Linked DNA regions of Homo sapiens: all the other regions are linked to region 1. The links are contacts of gene promoters, found by promoter capture Hi-C in blood cells and fetal thymus (Javierre and others, 2016). All regions are on one chromosome and are shown on one strand. The core of a region is centred on a gene start or on the middle of the fragment in contact, and the rest is flanking DNA. Distances in the headings are between cores, read along the strand shown.

The links. The method cuts DNA at HindIII sites, captures the fragments that hold promoters and counts their contacts. A CHiCAGO score of 5 or more calls a contact.
Region 2: a fragment that was not itself captured here is called in contact with the fragment with the promoter of SLC5A4 in region 1 in 3 of 17 cell types (activated CD4 T cells, monocytes and M1 macrophages); the score reaches 6.5 in activated CD4 T cells.
Region 3: a fragment that was not itself captured here is called in contact with the fragment with the promoter of SLC5A4 in region 1 in 1 of 17 cell types (monocytes); the score reaches 5.3 in monocytes.
Region 4: the fragment with the promoter of BPIFC here is called in contact with the fragment with the promoter of SLC5A4 in region 1 in 1 of 17 cell types (M1 macrophages); the score reaches 5.3 in M1 macrophages.

What each region holds. Positions count from the first base shown.
Region 1 is chr22:32,254,057-32,256,756 of GRCh38, reverse strand. SLC5A4 (solute carrier family 5 member 4) reads left to right here and starts at 1,410. Exons shown (of 15, transcript NM_014227.3): 1 at 1,410-1,562; 2 at 2,544-2,615. The coding sequence starts at 1,428. All of the region lies in intron 2 of SLC5A4-AS1 (SLC5A4 antisense RNA 1), which reads right to left. The HindIII fragment of the contact is 3,569 bases long and covers 1-1,651 here.
Region 2 is chr22:32,079,067-32,081,809 of GRCh38, reverse strand. All of the region lies in intron 5 of SLC5A1 (solute carrier family 5 member 1), which reads right to left. Among named protein-coding and RNA genes, the nearest start is that of SLC5A1, 37 kb to the right of the region's middle. The HindIII fragment of the contact is 2,523 bases long and covers 37-2,559 here.
Region 3 is chr22:32,120,666-32,123,461 of GRCh38, reverse strand. LOC105373000 (a long non-coding RNA gene) reads left to right here and starts at 1,793. Exons shown (of 3, transcript XR_938172.3): 1 at 1,793-2,051. It also overlaps the pseudogene AP1B1P1. The HindIII fragment of the contact is 8,321 bases long and covers 1-2,796 here.
Region 4 is chr22:32,463,026-32,465,797 of GRCh38, reverse strand. BPIFC (BPI fold containing family C) reads left to right here and starts at 1,352. Exons shown (of 17, transcript NM_174932.3): 1 at 1,352-1,424. The HindIII fragment of the contact is 5,490 bases long and covers 1-1,627 here.

The DNA of each region.
Region 1 (2,700 bases), core at 161-2,660:
AGGAAGGAAATTCTGATACATGCTACAATATGGATGAACCTTGAAAATGTCATACTAAGTGAAATAAACCAAAGAGGAAAATATTGTATGATTTCATTTGTATGAGGTACCTAGAATAGGCAAATTTATATAGTAAGAAAGAATAACAGAGGTTACCAGGGCCTGGAGAGAGGGAGGGATGGGGAGTTAGTTTTTAGTGGGTACATACTTCTGTTTGGAGATGATGAAAAAGTTCTGGAAATGGATAGTGGTAATGGCTGCATAACACTGTAAATGTACTTAATGCCAATGAATTGTACACTTAAAAGGGATTAAAATGGTAAATTTTATGCTATGTATGCTTTGCCACAATAAAAAATGAAGTATAAAAGAAGAATTTCTGGGCTTTCCGTTTTTTCATGTGTGTTTTTGGTTTTGTTTTTTTGTTGTTGTTTTTTTTGTTTGTTTTTGAGACAGGATCTTGCTCAGTTGCCCAGGCTAGAGTGCAGCGGCGTGATCATGGCTCACTATAGCTTTGACCTCCCAGTCACAGGTGATCCTCCCTCTTCAGCCTCCCAAGTAGCTGGGACCATACGTGTGCATCACCACACTCAGCTAATTTTTATAGAGACAAAGACTCCCTATGTTGCCCAAGCTGGTCTTGAACTCCTGGCCTCAAGTGATGCTCTCTCCTTGGCCTCCCAAAGTGCTGGGATTACAGGTGTCAGCCACCGCATAGGCTTTACTTCTAACTTCTTCTTGGCTGTAGTCCAGGAGTCTTGTTTCCTGAGTCCTCATGATCCCCATCACATGCTTCCAGGTTGATTCACTCTTTGTACAACCCTCTGACCCAGCGCTCTCCACAGCTCTGCCCTCAACTCACCACATATGGTGCTTGAAGAGCCACTTCCTTTCCTATACAGGCCACCAATGTCTTTTTGTGGCACATGAAACCCACTTCAGAGAAATGTGGGACTTTGGAATCCACGAAAGGCATAATTCACTTCACTGTCAAGGGATATAGCTCATTGGTCAGAAACTGTATCTGTTCTCTGAAGGACCATTGCATTCGGTCCCTCCTGGCTGGTTTCTGGTACCTTCTAGTCTGTCCTTCTCCCCTCCTTGTCTGTCTTCATTTCTCTCAAATCCCCCCTCCACCTGGGCAAATCTCTTTAAAGACCCTGTCTTTGCACTCAGAGAACGCCCCATGCTCCACCTCAAATTCTCCCCTCATTTCTGGCCCTGCATCCCTCATTCTCACACTCTACCTAGGCTAGCACTCACTGGTGGAGGGCTGGGGTGCCACAGCTTTGGAGAAGAGGTTTAAAGGTCTCCATATCCAGGAGCTGGCTCTGATATCTCGCCCCACCTGCCTGAGGCTGATCATTAACCCAGAACTTATATAAAGATGGCTCATGCGTGGAATGGGTATAGCACTGCCTGCAGCCATGGCCAGTACGGTTAGCCCCAGCACCATAGCTGAGACCCCAGAGCCACCTCCATTGTCTGACCACATCCGAAATGCTGCTGACATCTCAGTCATTGTCATCTATTTTCTGGTGGTGATGGCTGTTGGGCTGTGGGTAGGTGGAATCCCAGTGGCTTTTAGGGTGGGCACAAGGTTTAGGAGGGGGTATCTTAAGGGGGGAAGGGGTGTGGTTGTGACAAAGCTTTTCACAAATGTCATTGTGTTATCAGAATCATTTTCTTGTGTGTTGCATAAATAACGCTTACAATGAACTAATGTATTCTCCTAATAACCCCATCGTGTGCACACAGCCAGCACCGGGACCTTCAGATTTACTATGCATCCCCAACACCTGGCATAATGGACAAAGAGTGTATTTTTATTATCGCATTTCTTTCGCTTTCTTTTGTTGTTTGCTCACTTTCTGATTTAGTGAGTTGGACTCTTCATTTATGTTGAATTTTTTTATTTTAATAAATTTGAGACTGCAAATTTTTTTTTTTTTTGAGACGGAGTCTTGCTCTGTCGTCCAGGCTGGAGTGCAGTGGCGCTTGCTTGGCTCACTGCAAGCTCCGCCTCCTGGGTTCACGCCATTCTCCTGCCTCAGCCTCCCAAGTAGCTGGGACTACAGGCATGCGCCACCACGCCCGGCTAACTTTTTGTATTTTTAGTAGAGACGGGGTTTCACCATGTTGGCCAGGATGGTCTCGATCTCTTGACCTTGTGATCCACCCGCCTCGGCCCTCCAAAGTGCTGGAATTACAGGCGTGAGCCACCGTGCCCGGCCGAGACTGCAAATTTTATTGCAAGCATGGCTCAATGATACCTCACATGGTTTTCATAAGTGAGAATAATCAGAGCAGTTAAGATAGAAGTTAAGGATTATGATTTTTTTAAGTTCTTCCAGCCCTGGGTTTTTACAAAGCGACTGTTTTTGAAGTCCTTTAAAATTTGATGCTATAGAACACTTTCCAGCGAAATGTTTCTCTCTGTAGGAGTGCTGAAGTCACCCCTCTCAGCACCCTGGCCAGAGCCTCTGGGGTGTCTGGGTGCACTTGCTGGGGCTTGACCCTCACCTGTCTTCCCTTCTGCTCAGGCGATGCTGAAGACCAACCGAGGTACTATAGGAGGCTTCTTCCTCGCTGGTCGTGATATGGCCTGGTGGCCGGTAAGTGGATCGAAGTTTTCTGGAGATAAATTTCCTGTGTGTGTGCTTAAAACTGAATGTAGGCTGGGTGCGGTGTCTCACGCCT
Region 2 (2,743 bases), core at 49-2,548, 170 kb after region 1:
CTGTAGTCTCTCTACTCCTGATTTTCCAAGCAAGCTTTATTCAAGATGATAATACGTATTCCATGAGAAAAAGAATTCCATGGTCAAAAAGGTCTATAAAATGCTAAACAGAATTAAGGCAGTTTCTTTGCCACACAACTTTTCTGAGCCTTTAATATATGCCATGTACAGTCATCCCCAGGGAGGGAACACGGTACATGACATCTCACAAACTCACTCAACTATTGAACTCTTTTTGCCAAGGAACAGCTATTAACACTTAGAGGTTCCTTGCAAGTCACCTGTAGACTGTTGCTCTGAGCTATTGTCCATCTTTTGCACCTCAGTGTACACAGGTTTATCAGAGCTCGTCCCCAAAAGCAAGTCTGAGTGCTGGAGAGTCCATAAGTGAGAAACCCCACCCCCACCCAGGAGCGGGGAGAAACTTAGCAAGTTTGTAATTTTAACTCCCCAACCCGGATGCAGTCCATCTTGACTCAGACACAACCAGAACATCACCAAGCACCTCTTACATAGCAGGCTTGGTACTTGCTGGTTTTATTTAGATTATTTCATGTAATTTCTGGGAGAATTGCTCCCTCCTCACTCCTGAATTCTTGATGCAGTTCTTCCATCTTCACCCTTTCTCCTCCTTCCTGTCTCTTTCAGCCTTCTCCTAATGAACCTTCTACCTGGCTGGATGGTGCAGTTGCTCATATAAACCAGCAGAGAGCACCAGGGTCACCCCAAATGCATGTTCATGTCATCTCCAAAACAATACCAGGGAGGGTAGTATTAAGGGATGATCATGGTGAGTCTTTTTTATTTATTTATTTTTTGACAGAGTCTCACTCTGTCGCCCGGGCTAGAGTGCAGTGGTGCGATCTCAACTCACTGCAACCTCTGCCTCCTGGGTTCAAGCGATTCTCCTGCCTCAGCCTCCTGAGTAGCTGGGATTACATGTGTGCACCACCACACCCAGCTAATTTTTGTATTTTTAGTAGAGACAGGATTTCACCATGTTGGTCAGGCTGGTCTCGAACTCCTGACCTCGTGATCTGCCTGCCTTGGACTCCCAAAGTGCTGGGATTACAGGCGTGAGCCACTGCGCCCAGCTGAGTCTTTTGTTTTCAAATCTCCAGGTGTGGACGAAACTGGACTTCCCTAGATGGAATGAATGCACGAACTGTTTTCACTGCACAAACCCTAACATTTCACGGCACGCAAACAGCACCCAGACGGAGCCTTGGGGATGGGCCAGCAGGGTTGGACTCTTACTTCTCACATCTCCTCTTATATCTTGCATCTCCTCTCTAGTTCCGTTTCCCAGTCCCCATCCCATTGCTGCTCCTGAGGGCCCTCCAGTGTTTAAGTTTCCCACCATACCTGCCTGTCCCTCCTATGAGAATCTCCTATTCCCTCCCTCCATCAGTTAGCAAAGAGCACATCTAATACCAACTCCATGCTTCTGAGCTAACACGTGAGCCCTGGAGGGTGATTCGACCTCCTTCCCGAAGGTGGGCCTTTTGAGGACCTGATGCCATAGTTCCCCTCTGCCCAGATCTCCCCTGAAGATTCTCTCACCCAGGGGACCCAATGTCACCATCTTCCCTGGTGAAGGAGGGGAGGCAGAGCCAGGAGGTGGGAGGAGAGATGGTGAGTTAGAAAGAAACTCCTCTCTCCCTGGAGTTAGCAGTCAGAAGAACCAGCATTTTAGCCCCAGTGCCGCCACTCTAGGCCTGCAAACCTTTGGGCAAAACATTTCCCCTCTCTAATTCTCAGTGTCCTCGTGTTTATGCAGGAAGTCCTGGCTCCAGGGACTTGTGATTCTCAGTGGTTGGAAGTGGGAAAGGTCTGCAGTGAGGAAAGCATTCTTCTCCCGGGTTCTGGACCGCTTCCATTCTGCCTTGCCCTCTGCAGTAGCCCAAGAGGAGGAAGGCGCCTCTGCTGTGCATAAGTCTTGCCAAAAGTGAAATGGCCACTTCTTCCTGACTCTGCACACTGGGCCATTTGAAATTGTAATGAATATTTATAATGCTGGTCCCTCTCCTCTCATGCCTCTACACAGTCACATAAAGTTACTTAAATTCAAGGGGCCCCATTCACTGATTGCAGTGAAATTCTGTTAAATGCACACACGTTTGATTTGGTGGATTAGCTAATAAGTGTAAATAAGATAGGAAAAGATTACAAAGCTGACACTGCCTTTAAACTGCCCTTGGTTGATTTTCCAGAGTAGTTAATTTTTAATGCTTTATGACAACATGCCATCGTAGACTGTGATACCCTCATTAATATGTGCCTTGCTGTCATTAGTCACAAAGAGGCAACACATAAGTTATAAGATAATGCTATAAATGACCTCTATAAAGACTTCTGAAAAGTGTTGGGCTAATAAAAGTCTTGTTTTTATGATATTCTATTTCCTTCTAACAGTACAGATAAAGGATTCTAAGGAAACCTCCCTGGTGAATTGAAGAAACCTAGGACAAATTCTTCCTCGCATGAGTCATTCTAACTTCAGAGATGAATTCTGCCTTGGCATGCCAAAGGCCAGGCTGGGAATACCTTAGCTAAGCTTATGTAGCTGACTCCAGCTGAGCAAGGCCACTCTAGTCTGGGTGCTCTGACATTAGTCTTTGGTCCTTCCTAGCTGCCAAACAAACCCACTAGGGTTGTTTTTTTTTGTTTGTTTGTTTGTTTGTTTTCTTTTCTTCATGTTCAGAGAGTTTTACAGTTTACCAAGGACATTTAGGCACATGCG
Region 3 (2,796 bases), core at 224-2,723, 130 kb after region 1:
CTGCTCAGGATTCCCCCAGAAACTCGAGCAGGAGGAGATGGCCCTCTGGAGCCTGAGTCAGGGAGAGGAGGACTGCTCCTCTGACCACTGCTGTCACTGACACCTCTGCTGCCTGCTGCCAGGGTGACAGTGCAGCCCCCCGATAGCGCCCCCAACACCCTGCCCCCCATCACCAGCACCTGATAGCGCCCCCAACCTGCCCCTGCCTCGGACACTGAAGCACCTGCTGGCACCTGCAACTTGCCCCCAGCCACGGGCACTGCAGCCCAGGGTAGCAACCTCAATCCGCTCCATGCCATAGACGGTGTAGCCATGAATAGCGGCCCCAACCAGACCACCGCCACTGGCAGTGACGCCCCAATATGGCACCCAAACTACCCCCCACTGCAAGCAGTGCAACCCCAGATAGCGCTCCAATCTGCTCCCACCGGGAGTAGCAGCCCAGGATAGCGCCCCCCATGCACTCCCTGCCTCTGGCAGTGCAGCCATGGATAACGCACCCAACCCACGCCCTGCCGCTGGCAGTGTAGTCCCCAATAGTGCACCCAACCTGCCCCCGCCCCCTGAGCCAACGTGGCCCCAGATAGCATACTCACTGGCTCCCTGACAGGCAGTACAGATCTCTGATAGCACCCAGCCCACCCCCCTCCACCCACCATGGGCAGTGTATCCTCAGTAGCACCCCCAACCAACCCCCCACCCCCTCTCCACGGGCATTCTGGTCCCTGGTAGCACTCCCAATAAACCCCGCTACTTCTGCCTCAGTGTAGCCCCCGATAGCAACCTCAACACCCCCCTCCCTGCCGCCAATAGTGTAGCACCCTATAGTGACCCTAACCCGTCCCCCACCACCAACATTGCAGCCCCAGATTGTGCGCTCAACCCACTCCCTGCTGTAGGCTGTGCAGCCATGGATAGTGCCCCCAACCAGCTCCCAGACGCAGGCAATGATGCCCCAGATACCACATGTCCCACCCACCACAGGCAGAGTAGCACCCAATAGCGCCCCCAACCTGTGCCCAACAAGGGCATTGCAGCACCCGATAGTTCTCCCAACTCACCCCCTGGCCGCAGGCAGTGCATCCCCAGATAGTGCCCCCCAAAACCACCCACTGCCGCTAGCAGTACAGATTGGGATAGTGCCCCAACCCACCCCCAGCCACGGGCAGCACACCCCAGATAGGGCCCCAACCCACTCCCCTCCACAGGCAGTGATGCCCCAGATAGCACACCCAACCAGCCCCTCAACACGGGCAGTGACGCCCTGGATAGGGACCCCAACCCACCCCCCATGCCTCAGGCAGTACCTCCTGGGATAGCGAACCTATCCCACCACCTTTTTACCATCCTGGCTGCACTGTCGTCTTCCTTGCCACCACCAACCACAGCAGCAAGGGGAGCCAAGGCAGGCTCGAGTCTCCAGCGTGCGTGGCAAGTGCCTCCTCCTCCTTCTCCTGTAAGCCTGGAATGGAGCAGCTACACCAGTGGACACTGAAGAGCCTAGAATGAGGAGCCGCCTCACTTGGCATCCTTTATATGTGGAGTTGATGCAAATGAAGTTCCTGGACTACATGTTCTGATTGGACAAGAGAAACCTCTAGGCCTAGTCTGATTGGACTTTGTTATCATGTTCTGATTGGTTATCCTAAGACTTCCTCTCATCCAGTCACAACACGAAAATAAAGCCCAATCATAGTAGACCTAGAGATTTTTCTCTCATCCAATCAGAACATGTAGTCCAGGAACCTAATTTGCATAACCTTTGTAAGCGAGAGTCTTGCCATTCCAGGTTCTTCTACGTCTGCCCGCCCATCTGTTCCGACCCCAGATTAGAGAAGGAGTTGTCACCGGTGGCATGCTGGAGGCTTGAGCCTGCAGCAGCATGGCTCGCCTCACTGTGGCTGGTGGCAGTGAGGTAGAGTACAGCACAGCCAAAGTGGTAGAAAGGTGGCAGAGTAGGTGAGCTATCCAGGGACTTGTGGCGGGGGGAGAGGGGCAGTGAGCTCAGGGGCCAAGGATTGGATGCACTATCGTGAACTACACTGCCCAAGGTGAGGGGGGGATTGGGGGCGCCATCTTGTGTGGGGGGTGTGTTAGGGGCAGTACTGGGTGTTGCACTGCCCACGGTGGGGAATGGTTGGGTGTTATCCCAGGCATCATTTCCTGCAGCAGTGGTGGGGTGGGGGCTTGTTGGGGGCCTATCTGTGGCTGCATTGGTCACACGAGGCTCGAGTTGGGGTGCTGTCTGGGACATCAGTGCCCATGGTGGGGAACTCCTTGGGTGTGATATCTGAGGTGTCACTGCCCATGGCTGGGGGCTGGTTTGGGGCGCTATCTATGGACTACACTGCCCACAGCCAGGAACGTGTTGGGGGCATTATCGGGAGTGGACTGCCAGTGGCAGGGGTGGAGGGACGGGTTGGGTGCTATTGGGGGGCTGCACTGCCCAGCAGGGAGTGTGTCGGGTGCACTATCCGGGGTTGCAGTGCCGGCAGTGGGTGGCAGATTGGGTGCACTATCAGGGGCTACACTGTCGCGTCAAGTGAGGGGTTGGCGGCGCTATCCTGGGCTACACCGCCAGTGATGGGGGGCATGTTAGGGTCGCTATCTGGTGCTGCACTCTCGGCAACGGGGTGGGTGGCGGTTGGGCGACCTACCCGGGCGTCACTGCCCAAGGCTAGGGTCTGCTTGGGGGCGCTATCCCGGGAGTCACTTCCCATGGCGGGAGGCTGGTTGGGGGCACTTTCCGTGGCTGCACTGCCAACATCAGGGAGCAGTTTGGGGGCATTAACCTGG
Region 4 (2,772 bases), core at 103-2,602, 210 kb before region 1:
TTCATGCAATCAGGCTGGGTGCGGTGGATCATGCCTGTAATCCCAGGACTTTGGGAGGCCAAGGCAGGTGGATCACTTGAGGTCAAGAGTTCAAGACCAGCCTGGCCAACATGGTGAAACCCCATCACTACTAAAAATACAAAAATTAGCCAAGTTTGGTGGTGCACACCTGTAATTCCAGCTACTCAGAGGGCTAAGGCACAAGAATCGCTTAAACCCTGGAGGCAGAGGTTGTAGTGAGCCAAGATCATGCCACTGCACTCCAGCCTGGGTGACAGTGAGACTGTCTCAAAAAAAAAAAAACCAAAAAACAAAAAAAAAAACTTCATACAATCAAATCCCTGGCCATCTAAAATACATTAATGGCCGGGTATGATGGCTCACATCTGTAATCCCAGCACTTATGAAGCCAACACGGGTGGATCAATCACATGAGGTCAGGAGTTCGAGACCAGCCTGGCCAATGCAGCGAAACCCTGTCTGTACTAAAAATACAAAAAATTAGCTGGGCGTGGTAGCGCACTCCTGTAATCCCAGCTACTAGGGAGGCTGAGGCAGGAGAATTGTTTGAACCCAGGGGGCGGAGGTTGCAGTGAGCCAAGATCGCTCCACTGCACTCCAGCCTGGGTGACAGAGTGAGACTCCATCTCAAAAAATAAATAAATAAAAATAAAAATAGATAAAACACATTAACTAAAATGAATTTATTGGAGATGAGAGTAGGGCTGGAGTTTGGAATCTGAAAATGTTAAGTTGCATAATAGTTGATGAACCCACCCACCCAACTTAGGTTTAAGGAATGCTGGAACAGTAAGTCATTAATAACATTCTGAAAAGGAGCGGACGGACACTGAGAGATGCCAACTGAGGTCCTACCCTGAGTGATAAGGTAACTAGGTCAGCCCGATTGTCAAGCCTCATGCTTTCAGACTGAATCTGATGATCCACCACAAGTCCCAAAGGTATTCTGGGCAGTAGTAGAGCCATCCACCGCAGGCACCCTGACCAGAAGGAACCAGCTTATGATTCCAGACAGGAAAATTCTTCCTCTTCCAATGCAGTTTAACACCGTTTTCAATCATTTTGGTAAAGTAGCCATCACAATTTCACAAGTGGTGTGTGTGTGTGTGTGTGTGTGTGTGTGTGTGTGTTTTGCAGGAAGATAATTATTGCATAGGTGGCACTGTCTGTTTATCTAGGTAGATACTGTAGTGCTCATTCATGCCATTGGGTAATTGTAGTGAAGCAATTATGTATCACATTTTGAAAGAGGCATTAAAAAAATTCACCACTGAGATGAGTCAGACTTAATTATCTTGGCTTTTTAGCAGCTGAGTTTAAGGCGCAAGGTGGAGAACACATCAGCTTCAAAGGCAGAGAGAATCGAAGGTGCTCTCCAGCTTTGGACACTTCCTCTGCTTGAGGTAAGACTCATGAACAAACTTCAGGTCTCTGCCAGCCATGATCTCCAAACTGGAGATGTCCCAGATTTGGTAGGACACTTTGAACAGGCAGCTGTCATATATCCTGGGTTATTATTATTGTCTGCCTAGATTTTTCTGTATCTTTGTTTGTTTGTTTGTGTGATGTCACATATGCGCACCTGGAGGCTTCTTAGGCAAAAGCTTTAGTGACAGCTAAACAGCCATAAGAGAGAAAAGAGTTGGTTTAAACCACCTACTTAGTTTTGCATCATGGAACAATGTTAAGAGGGTTGCTCAGTGATCTGGACTTATTTTTGCCTCCATTTCAGAGGGGAACCCAGCACAGTGGCAGAAAATTCTATCTTGTCTCTCAAAATCAGCATGGTTAGGACTAAGGAGTTGTTATAATCTCTGTGCTTTCAAGGCAGGTCTTAAAGCACATCAGTGACCTAGATCCTGCCAGAGCAAAACTAGCCACCCACTTGCCTGGACTGTTGAACTTGTTGGTGTTAGGCATAGAGTTTTGGGGAAAAGACATGCTATGAATTCTCAAGGTCCTTGTCATTAGAGATGTTGCTATAAAACTAGATGTGAGGAGTGGATCCCTTGAAATATTCTGCCCACGTTCCATACCTGTCGATTTAGACTTCTTATGTACGGTCATTTTGTCTTAACCAATATGTCGGAATACCCTTCTAGTTTAGACTTCTTTAAACCTGTTGAACTTAATTTTTCAACCTGCGCCTCTGTTTTGAAGGCTACATTTTACTCATTCATTACTCCCTTAATCGGTTTTTCCAGAGTCAGTCAAAGCTCTTGCCAAGCAGCAGTAGTAGTAGGACCATCTGTGAGTTTCAGGTGTTTTCTAAATTGGACTGGCATTTTCTTAGCTGTCAGGATGACTCACACAAGGACCATTTAATTTAGGAGTATTATTCTGTCTGTGTATTTGTATGGAAAAATAATGACTACTGAGATTTTGAATCTTGGAAAGAAGCAATTCCCCAGAAGCAACAAAATAGATAACTTGCTGGTGGGGTTTTTAAGTGATCTTGGATCCTTTTAACAGGCAACTAGCCCTGCCTGCACTTGTCAGCCAAATTACTTAACCTTTTAGTAGTCATCACCTTGCTTGACAAGGTTCCTTTCCTCCCCTGCCCATAAGTTATCATCGTAACTGAACAATTCAATGAAAAGTTATGTACAATTCACCCCTTCATACCCCAGTAATTTCTTTCACTCATAAAATTTCTAGAGGAAAAATATGTTTTCCTGCCTGTAATTTTGGATTCCTGGATCTCCATCAAAGTGTACCACTTCAGAAACTTTTTTTAACCAAGAAGGGAAA